Regions from separate parts of the Homo sapiens genome. Here region 2 is linked to region 1. The links are contacts of gene promoters, found by promoter capture Hi-C in blood cells and fetal thymus (Javierre and others, 2016). All regions are on one chromosome and are shown on one strand. Each heading gives the region's core, a stretch centred on a gene start or on the middle of the fragment in contact. The rest is flanking DNA. Distances are from core to core; before and after follow the strand shown.

Evidence for each region. The method cuts DNA at HindIII sites, captures the fragments that hold promoters and counts their contacts. A CHiCAGO score of 5 or more calls a contact.
Region 2: a contact is called between a fragment that was not itself captured here and the fragment with the promoter of ABCA9-AS1 in region 1, in 1 of 17 cell types (M2 macrophages). The highest score is 5.6, in M2 macrophages.

Annotation. Positions count from the first base shown.
Region 1 is chr17:69,002,473-69,006,843 of GRCh38, reverse strand. It overlaps ABCA9-AS1 (ABCA9 antisense RNA 1), which reads right to left and starts at 2,130. Exons shown (of 4, transcript NR_126414.1): 1 at 2,051-2,130. The region is part of intron 25 of ABCA9 (ATP binding cassette subfamily A member 9); the gene reads left to right. The HindIII fragment of the contact is 13,565 bases long and covers 1-3,467 here.
Region 2 is chr17:68,779,914-68,784,284 of GRCh38, reverse strand. No RefSeq gene overlaps it. Among named protein-coding and RNA genes, the nearest start is that of LINC01482, 150 kb to the right of the region's middle. The HindIII fragment of the contact is 5,949 bases long and covers 1-4,371 here.

The DNA of each region.
Region 1 (4,371 bases), core at 881-3,380:
CAATGAGATCTTTTCAAAATAAATTTTAGTTGAAAAGTATAGCCTACATTATAGAAAAGTTCACACATTTTAAGCACACCTAGTAATGTTCTATTTATTGATGTGTCTGGTAGTTTTTTTGAGCACTTCCCCAAAACTACCAGGTACATCAATAAATAGAACAATACTAGAACCCTAGAAGCCCCCTTCCATCCCATTTCCAATTTCCCTCCTCCTTGTAAAAATCATTACTCCTATTATATTAACATAGGTAATGTAGCCAGTTTCTGAACTTAATAAAAATGGAATCATGTAGAAGGCATAATTATATATCTGTATATAATCGACAATAGGTTATTTAGAATCATCCATGCTGTTGCATTTGATAACAACCAGAATAGTTTATTCCTTTTCATTGCTGTAATAGTCTACTGATGAATGTGCTATAATTTATTTATTCATTGTTGATGGACATTCAAGTGGCTTCTTGTTTTGAACTGCTATAAATAACACTGCCATGAACTTTCTTGTTCTTGTATGTCTTTTGTTGCATGTGTGTGTATATCTTGAGATGTAAACCTAGCAGTGGAATTACTAGGTCACAATGTATTCAACTTTATGTTCAACTTTAGTTGATCTTGCCAAACAGTTTTTCAAAGAGGTGGAACCACCCACAGAGTATGAGAATTCCAGGGGATGATATGGGGGATGCCTCACATTTGAAAGAAACTAAAATAAAATACCATGAGTAAATACAAATTAGAAAATAAGAAGAAAAGACAATGACTTCCAGACTGGGTTAAAAAAATTAGCTATATGTTTGTTAAAATAAACACATCTAAGTCATGGGCAATGACTTAACAGGCATTTTTAAAATGAGGAAATTAGAAATGGCTGCCCAAATAGCAGATGAAGTCAAGTTCTAGACCTAAAGTCTTAAATAAGGAAAGAAATATGTTGACAAAATGCAAAATCCATGCAGAAAATGGAAGTCTCCTTATTTGTTTAGCAAATAATACACAACAGCAAAATACATCACACAATCCTCTCCAAAGATCCAAGTGGAACTTAAATCACCTGTTTCAGAACTAGAAGATTAGTTGGAAAAAAAAATAAGCCAGCATGTAGAAATTTAAATTAAACATCATACAAGTTATATTTGATTAGGTATGTAGACAGAGAACCTCTTTGTTCGTAGAGCAGGGTAGAACGAAACAAAGAAAACCGAAGTGGAAATGTGGTGGCCAAGGAACGAAGTCCCTGATACGGAGCTTTTCCTAAGTCTACTTCCATCCTCAACAAGCAATTTTGATGAGGAAAACTTAGTTGATAAAATGCTAATAATTGGCTCTAAAAAGGTATACATGAGTGACTGAGTTAACATCCTAGCACAGGTAAATAAAAACCCTTGAGAGAAGAATGCTTCACCTGGAGAGGTGGGATGCTGAGGTTTGCTATTTTACAGGGCTCTGGACTGAATTGGACTGTGGCCCAACGTCTAATAGGGTGCCCACCCCTTGACAATGAGATTCACTGCCTACTAGGTAGGGTGAAAACTGGTGCAGAACACTGGACATGACCTAAAGGAGAAAGCAATAAGGCTACACACAGCCTAAGCTGAGGACGCTGTATGCATCTAGGCCTCCAGGCTTCAAAGGTACTGATAGAAAGCAAGGCCCTACATCAAAATATTACTCAGAGAAAAAGATAAGCCAGGAGGGACGAGCCAAGATGGCCGAATAGGAACAGCTCCGGTCTACAGCTCCCAGCCTGAGCGACGCAGAAGACGGGTGATTTCTGCATTTCCATCTGAGGTAGCGGGTTCATCTCACTAGGGAGTGCCAGACAGTGGGCGCAGGTCAGTGGGTGCGCGCACCATGCACGAGCCGAAGCAGGGCGAGGCATTGCCTCACTCGGGAAGCGCAAGGGGTCAGGGAGTTCCCTTTCTTAATCAAAGAAAGGGGTGACAGACGGCACCTGGAAAATCGGGAAAATCGGGTCACTCCCACCCGAATACTGCACTTTTCCGACGGGCTTAAAAAACGGCGCACCACGAGATTATATCCCCCACCTGGCTCAGAGGGTCCTACGCCCACGGAGTCTCGCTGATTGCTAGCACAGCAGTCTGAGATCAAACTGCAAGGCGGCAGCGAGGCTGGGGGAGGGGCGCCTGCCATTGCCCAGGCTTGCTTAGGTAAACAAAGCAGCTGGGAAGCTCGAACTGGGTGGAGCCCACCACAGCTCAAGGAGGCCTACCTGCCTCTGTAGGCTCCACCTCTGGGGGCAGGGCACAGACAAACAAAAAGACAGCAGTAACCTCTGCAGACTTAAATGTCCCTGTCTGACAGCTTTGAAGAAAGCAGTGGTTCTCCCAGTACGCAGCTGGAGATCTGAGAACGGGCAGACTGCCTCCTCAAGTGGGTCCCTGACCCCTGAGCAGCCTAACTGGGAGGCACCCTCCAGCAGGGGCACACTGACACCTCACACTGCAGGGTACTCCAACAGACCTGCAGCTCAGGGTCCTGTCCGTTAGAAGGAAAACTAACAAACAGAAAGGACATCCACACCAAAAACCCCATCTGTACATCACCATCATCAAAGACCAAAAGTAGATAAAACCACAAAGATGGGGAAAAAACAGAACAGAAAAACTGGAAACTCTAAAAATCAGAGCGCCTCTCCTCCTCCAAAGGAGTGCAGCTCCTCACCAGCAACGGAACAAAGCTGGATGGAGAATGACTTTGACAAGCTGAGAGAAGAAGGCTTCAGACGATCAAATTACTCTGAGCTACGGGAAGACATGCAAACCAAAGGCAAAGAAGTTGAAAACTTTGAAAAAAATTTAGAAGAAAGTATAACTAGAATAACGAATACAGAGAAGTGCTTAAAGGAGCTGATAGAGCTGAAAACCAAGGCTCGAGAACTACGTGAAGAATGCAGAAGCCTCAGGAGCCCACGTGATCAACTGGAAGAAAGGGTATCAGCGATGGAAGATGAAATGAATGAAATGAAGCGAGAAGGGAAGTTTAGAGAAAAAAGAATAAAAAGAAATCAGCAAAACCTCCAAGAAATATGGGACTATGTGAAAAGACCAAATCTACGTCTGATTGGTGTACCTGAAAGTGATGGGGAGAATGGAACCAAGTTGGAAAACACTCTGCAGGATAGTATCCAGGAGAATTTCCCCAATCTAGCAAGGCAGGCCAACGTTCAGATTCAGGAAATACAGAGAACGCCACAAAGATACTCCTCGAGAAGAGCAACTCCAAGACACATAATTGTCAGATTCACCAAAGTTGAAATGAAGGAAAAAATGTTAAGGGCAGCCAGAGAGAAAGGTCGGGTTACCCTCAAAGGGAAGCCCATCAGACTAACAGTGGATCTCTCGGCAGAAACCCTACAAGCCAGAAGAGAGTGGGGGCCAATATTCAACATTCTTAAAGAAAAGAATTTTCAACCCAGAATTTCATATCCAGCCAAACTAAGCTTCATAAGTGAAGGAGAAATAAAATCCTTTACAGACAAGCAAATGCTGAGAGATTTTGTCACCACCAGGCCTGCCCTAAAAGAGCTCCTGAAGGAAGTGCTAAATATGGAAAGGAACAACTGGTACCAGCCTCTGCAAAATCATGCCAAAATGTAAAGACCATCGAGACTAGGAAGAAACTGCATCAACTAACGAGCAAAATAACCAGCTAACATCATAATGACAGGACCAAATTCACACATAACACTATTAACTTTAAATGTAAATGGACTAAATGCTCCAATTAAAAGACACAGACTGGCAAACTGGATAAAGAGTCAAGACCCATCAGTGTGCTGTATTCAGGAAACCTATCTCACATGCAGAGACCCACATAGGCTCAAAATAAAAGGATGGAGGAAGATCTACCAAGCAAATGGAAAACAAAAAAAGGCAGGGGTTGCAATCCTAGTCTCTGATAAAACAGACTTTAAACCAACAAAGATCAAAAGAGACAAAGAAGGCCATTACATAATGGTAAAGGGATCAATTCAACAAGAAGAGCTAACTATCCTAAATATATATGCACCCAATACAGGAGCACCCAGATTCATAAAGCAAGTCCTGAGTGACCTACAAAGAGACTTAGACTCCCACACAATAATAATGGGAGACTTTAACACCCCACTGTCAACATTAGACAGATCAACGAGACAGAAAGTCAACAAGGATACCCAGGAATTGAACTCAGCCCTGCACCAAGCGGACCTAATAGACATCTACAGAACTCTCCACCCCAAATCAACAGAATACATTTTTTTCAGCACCACACCACACCTATTCCAAAATTGACCACATAATTGGAAGTAAAGCTCTCCTCAGCAAATGTAAAAGAACAGAAATTATAACAAACTATCTCTCAGACC
Region 2 (4,371 bases), core at 786-3,285, 220 kb after region 1:
CTCTTCATTCCTTTGTCACCTTTCTATCCAATGTTTAAAGCCACTGTGTTCTCAGAATGGCCGCAGAACGTGGGCAGCTGGTGCCTTGGACGCTGTCCTACTGTGGCACGCTGAAGTCCCCTCAGCCCTGCTAGAAACTGGCACACAGTGCCACATAAATAGCATGGGCTTTATTTATGCAAAGGGAACAAGTGGTCCCTTCTCTAGGAAGGTTACACCCTTAGGACTGGCATTTGGTGGCAGATGGGCAGTCTTCATTTCATGGAAACCTAACTCCTATCACCCTAAGGGGTGACACAACATTCCATTCTAGACCCTTGGACATGGGCCAGGACAATTCACATTTGTTTCATATGAAACAGCAAGTCAGAGGAATAAATAGCCCTTTAACCTTATTCAAAGGATCTGTCTGTGTGGGACCTTTTGGGCTGAGCCCCAAGGGTCAAGGAGGCCTCACATTTTAACCACTCTCCAATGACAACTTTTTTGTCAGTAGAGATGAAGGGGACTTGCCACAAATATTGATCCTAATTTAATTTTGGACACGTAATAGTAATCAAATTTAAGAGTAGTGAGGTGGCTGTAAAAATGGGGCATCCCCACCAAAGCTCTCAGAAACCTGACTTTTCATTGTGTTTTGAAAAGAAACAGTGGCCAGGCTTGGTGGCTCATGCGTGTAATCCCAGCACTTTGGGAGTCTGAGGCGGGCAGATCACCTGAGCTCAGGAGTTTGAGAACAGCCTGAGCAACATGGTGAAACCTTGTCTCTGCTAAAAATACAAAAAAAAATTAGCCGAGCATGGTGGCACATGCCTGTAATCCCAGTTACTTGGGAGGCTGAGGCATGAGAATTGCTTGAACCCAAGAGGCGGAGGTTGCAGTGAGCTAAGATCATGCCACTGCACTCCAGCCTGGGTGACAGAGCAAGACTCTGTCTCAAAAAAAATTAATATTAAAAAATAAAATGAAATAAAAAATAAAAGGGAGAGAGAGAGCGCGCTTACCTATTACTGAATAAGAATAAAATCTCTTAATGCCACTCACTTTAATCTCTGCATCTCCTTTTCTGGAAATGGTGGAATTTTTAGCATGTTTCTGAGTCTGATATGTCTCATATTTTTAAGTGCCTATGGCATGCAGGAAAGAAGAGAGACACTCCCCAGAGGAAAGCCTGCTGCCCTCCCTGAACTTGGGCCATGAACTGACCATGTCATTACATTATCCCTCTTCAGTCCCAGGACTCAATGTTGCAAGATCCCTGCAAGCCGCATTCCATTATTCAAATGCCATTTCAGCCAAAATCTCCATCTGCCTAAAAGATGTCTCTGTCCTAGCCAATGGCTCCTCCACTGGCACATCATCTGAAGCCTCAGAATTCTATACAGAAAAGCCATCATGATGATTTAAGAGTCCTTGGGGTTTGTAAGAATGAGAGTCTGTTTCATAAAAATTGGCATCCAAATCATGGTTCCAGCTACACATGTTTAATACTGAATTTAAGTAATCAGATTCCTAATTTGAAAATTGCTTAGTTGCCAAGACTCTGATAGACCTTTTCTCAACACAAAAGTACAAGACGAGAGGGCAGCTTAAGATATCCATATGAAAAAGAATAAAATTGGACCCCTACCTCACACCATATACAAAAGTTAACTCAAAATGGACCCAAAATGTAAATGTAAGAGGTAAAGCTAGAAATCTCTTAAAAAGGAATATAGGTGTAAATCTTAGTTACCTTTCTTAAACATTATACCGAAAGCACAAACAAGGAGAAACTGACAAGCTGAACTTCATCAAAATTAAAAACTTTTGTGTGTCAGTGAACACTATCAAAGAAGTGAACAAAGAATGCACAGAATAAGAGAAAATATTTGTAAATCAAACATATAATAAGGGTCTAATATCTAGAATATATTTTTTAAAATTTGAAACTTGACATAAGAAGATAAATAGCCCAATTTTAAAATACACAAAAGATTTGAATAGACATTAGTCTAAACAAGATATACAAATGTCCAATAGGCACATAAGAAGATGCTCAATATTATTAGACATTAGAGAAATGCAAATCAAAACCACAATCAGATACAACTTCATACCAACTAGGATGGCTATAAACAACAACAATAATAAAAACAACAAATAAATAAAAACAGAAAATAATGTTGGTGAATATGTGGATGTATTGAAGTCTTCATGCCTTTCTAGTCAGAATGTAAAATGGTTCAACACTGTGGTAAACAGTCTGGTGCCTCCTCAAAATGTTAAGATTTACCATGTGGTCCAGCAATTCCACTACTGGATATGAATCCAAGAGAATTGAAAATGTGTGCTCAAACAAAAGTTTGCACGTAAATGTTCATAACAGCATTATTCATAATAACCAAAAAGTACAAACAACACAAATATCTACTAATTGATGAATGCATAAACAAACTGTGGCATAATCATTCAATGGAATATTACTGCACCATAAAAAGGAATGAAGTGCTGATACATGCTAAAATGTAGATGAACTTTGAAAATCTTATGCTAAGTGAAAGAAGCCAAATACAAAGGCTATATATGGTGTGATTCCGTTTATCTAAAATGTTCTAAATAGGCAAATCTATGGAACCACAAAGATTAGTGGTTGTGAGTTACTGGTAGGGGGACTGGTGGTGTTAGGGGAGAGTTGAGAGCGACTGCTAACCTTTTGAGGTGATGGAAAGGTCCAGTAATTAGACAATAATGATAGTTGTACAACATTTTGAATATATTAAAAACCACTGAATCATGTACATTAAAATAGTGAGTTTTAGGGTAAGAGATTTATATCTTAAGTTTTTCAAAAAAATAAAAATAAGATAAAACCACACACAGAGAACAGTAAGTGCTCAACAAATCACTAAAACAGCAGTCACCAGCTGGAACATCCATAAGTAGACATCAATAGAATGAACCAGAAAGCCCAGAAACAGACCAGGGAAACAGGAGAATTTTTTTAATAGGATACAACGCCATTTCAAGTTAGCTAGGAAAACACAGATTATTCAACAAGTAGTGTTAAGACAAAGTTTAACCATCTAAAAAAATAAATAAATAAGGCGGATCCAGACCTCACACTCTACACCAAAATAAATTACATAAAATATTTAAATATAAAAAACAAAATAACAAAAATGCTTTTAAAAATTGATAATATTCTATAAGGGACTGCATCTATTTTATAATTCCAGGATAAATTTACAATATAAAATATTTTAATAATTCTTATTCAATATTTGCTTTTATTGTTATTATTAAGTATATATTTAGTTGTTATGTTCATATGTAATGGCGTGTTTTTCAGTATTGCGGCAATAGAGGGGACAAAAAATAAAAATAAAAAATTGTAGTATTGATCTAGAAGCACACGAACAGCTGAATATGTTACAATATGTTCAAGCCATGTTTCAGCAATCTGTTTCTGGTCTAATGGAGACATTCCCAGCCAGGAGGGATTTTGCCTCCCAGGGAACATTTGGCAATGTCTGGAAATATTTTTGATTGTCCCAACTTGGGCAGTGCAGAGGGTGATGCTACTGGTATGTGGTGTAGAAAGGCCAGCAACAATCTAAACAGGGCAGCTACCCAGAGCAAAGAATTATCCAGCTCAAAATATCAATAGCGCCTCTGTTCAGAAGCCTTGCACTAGTGGAAGGATGGTGCTTGATGTTCTTAATAATAAACCTGTTTCCTGGGACCCGTGGAAACTCCCAGGCATTGAGACACCAGAAACCAGAAGCTCCTTCTTTGATGCTTCTCTTTTATTATTATTTATTGAGAACTTATTGTATGCCAGGCACTATGCTAAATTACTTAAGTGCAGTATTTAATTTTAATCTTCACAATTACCCTATTCTACATACTACCTTATTGTACACATTTGTTATTTCTTATTCACAATGAGGAAACAAATGCTTTGGGTAACTTATCAGAGGTTCCTAAATATTGAACAGTGAAGGTAGGACTGGAACAAAGATGAATCTGACCCCAGGGTCCGTGTATAAAACTTCCATGCTTTGCCATCTTATAAGACCCTGAGCCTATTCCATGGGTCCAGTTACATGTCTCTGTCCTCCAGGGTAAAAGTTAAGGCAGGAACATGATCAAATAACTGAATGTGATTATCATTGATCATCACTGATAAGGAAAGATTCCTGGACCACACTGCCCACTGTTGAGGGACTAAGTATTAAAGAGCACTAGTAGACATCTCTCTATGAAGAGCAGCATTTATTGTAAGGTTACACTCTACCCATCAGGGGTACTGACATAGCACCCCTGACCGTGGCTTAGGAGCAGGGAGACTCAGGGTCTGGCAATGTGCAAATTCTCAAGAAGCAGAAA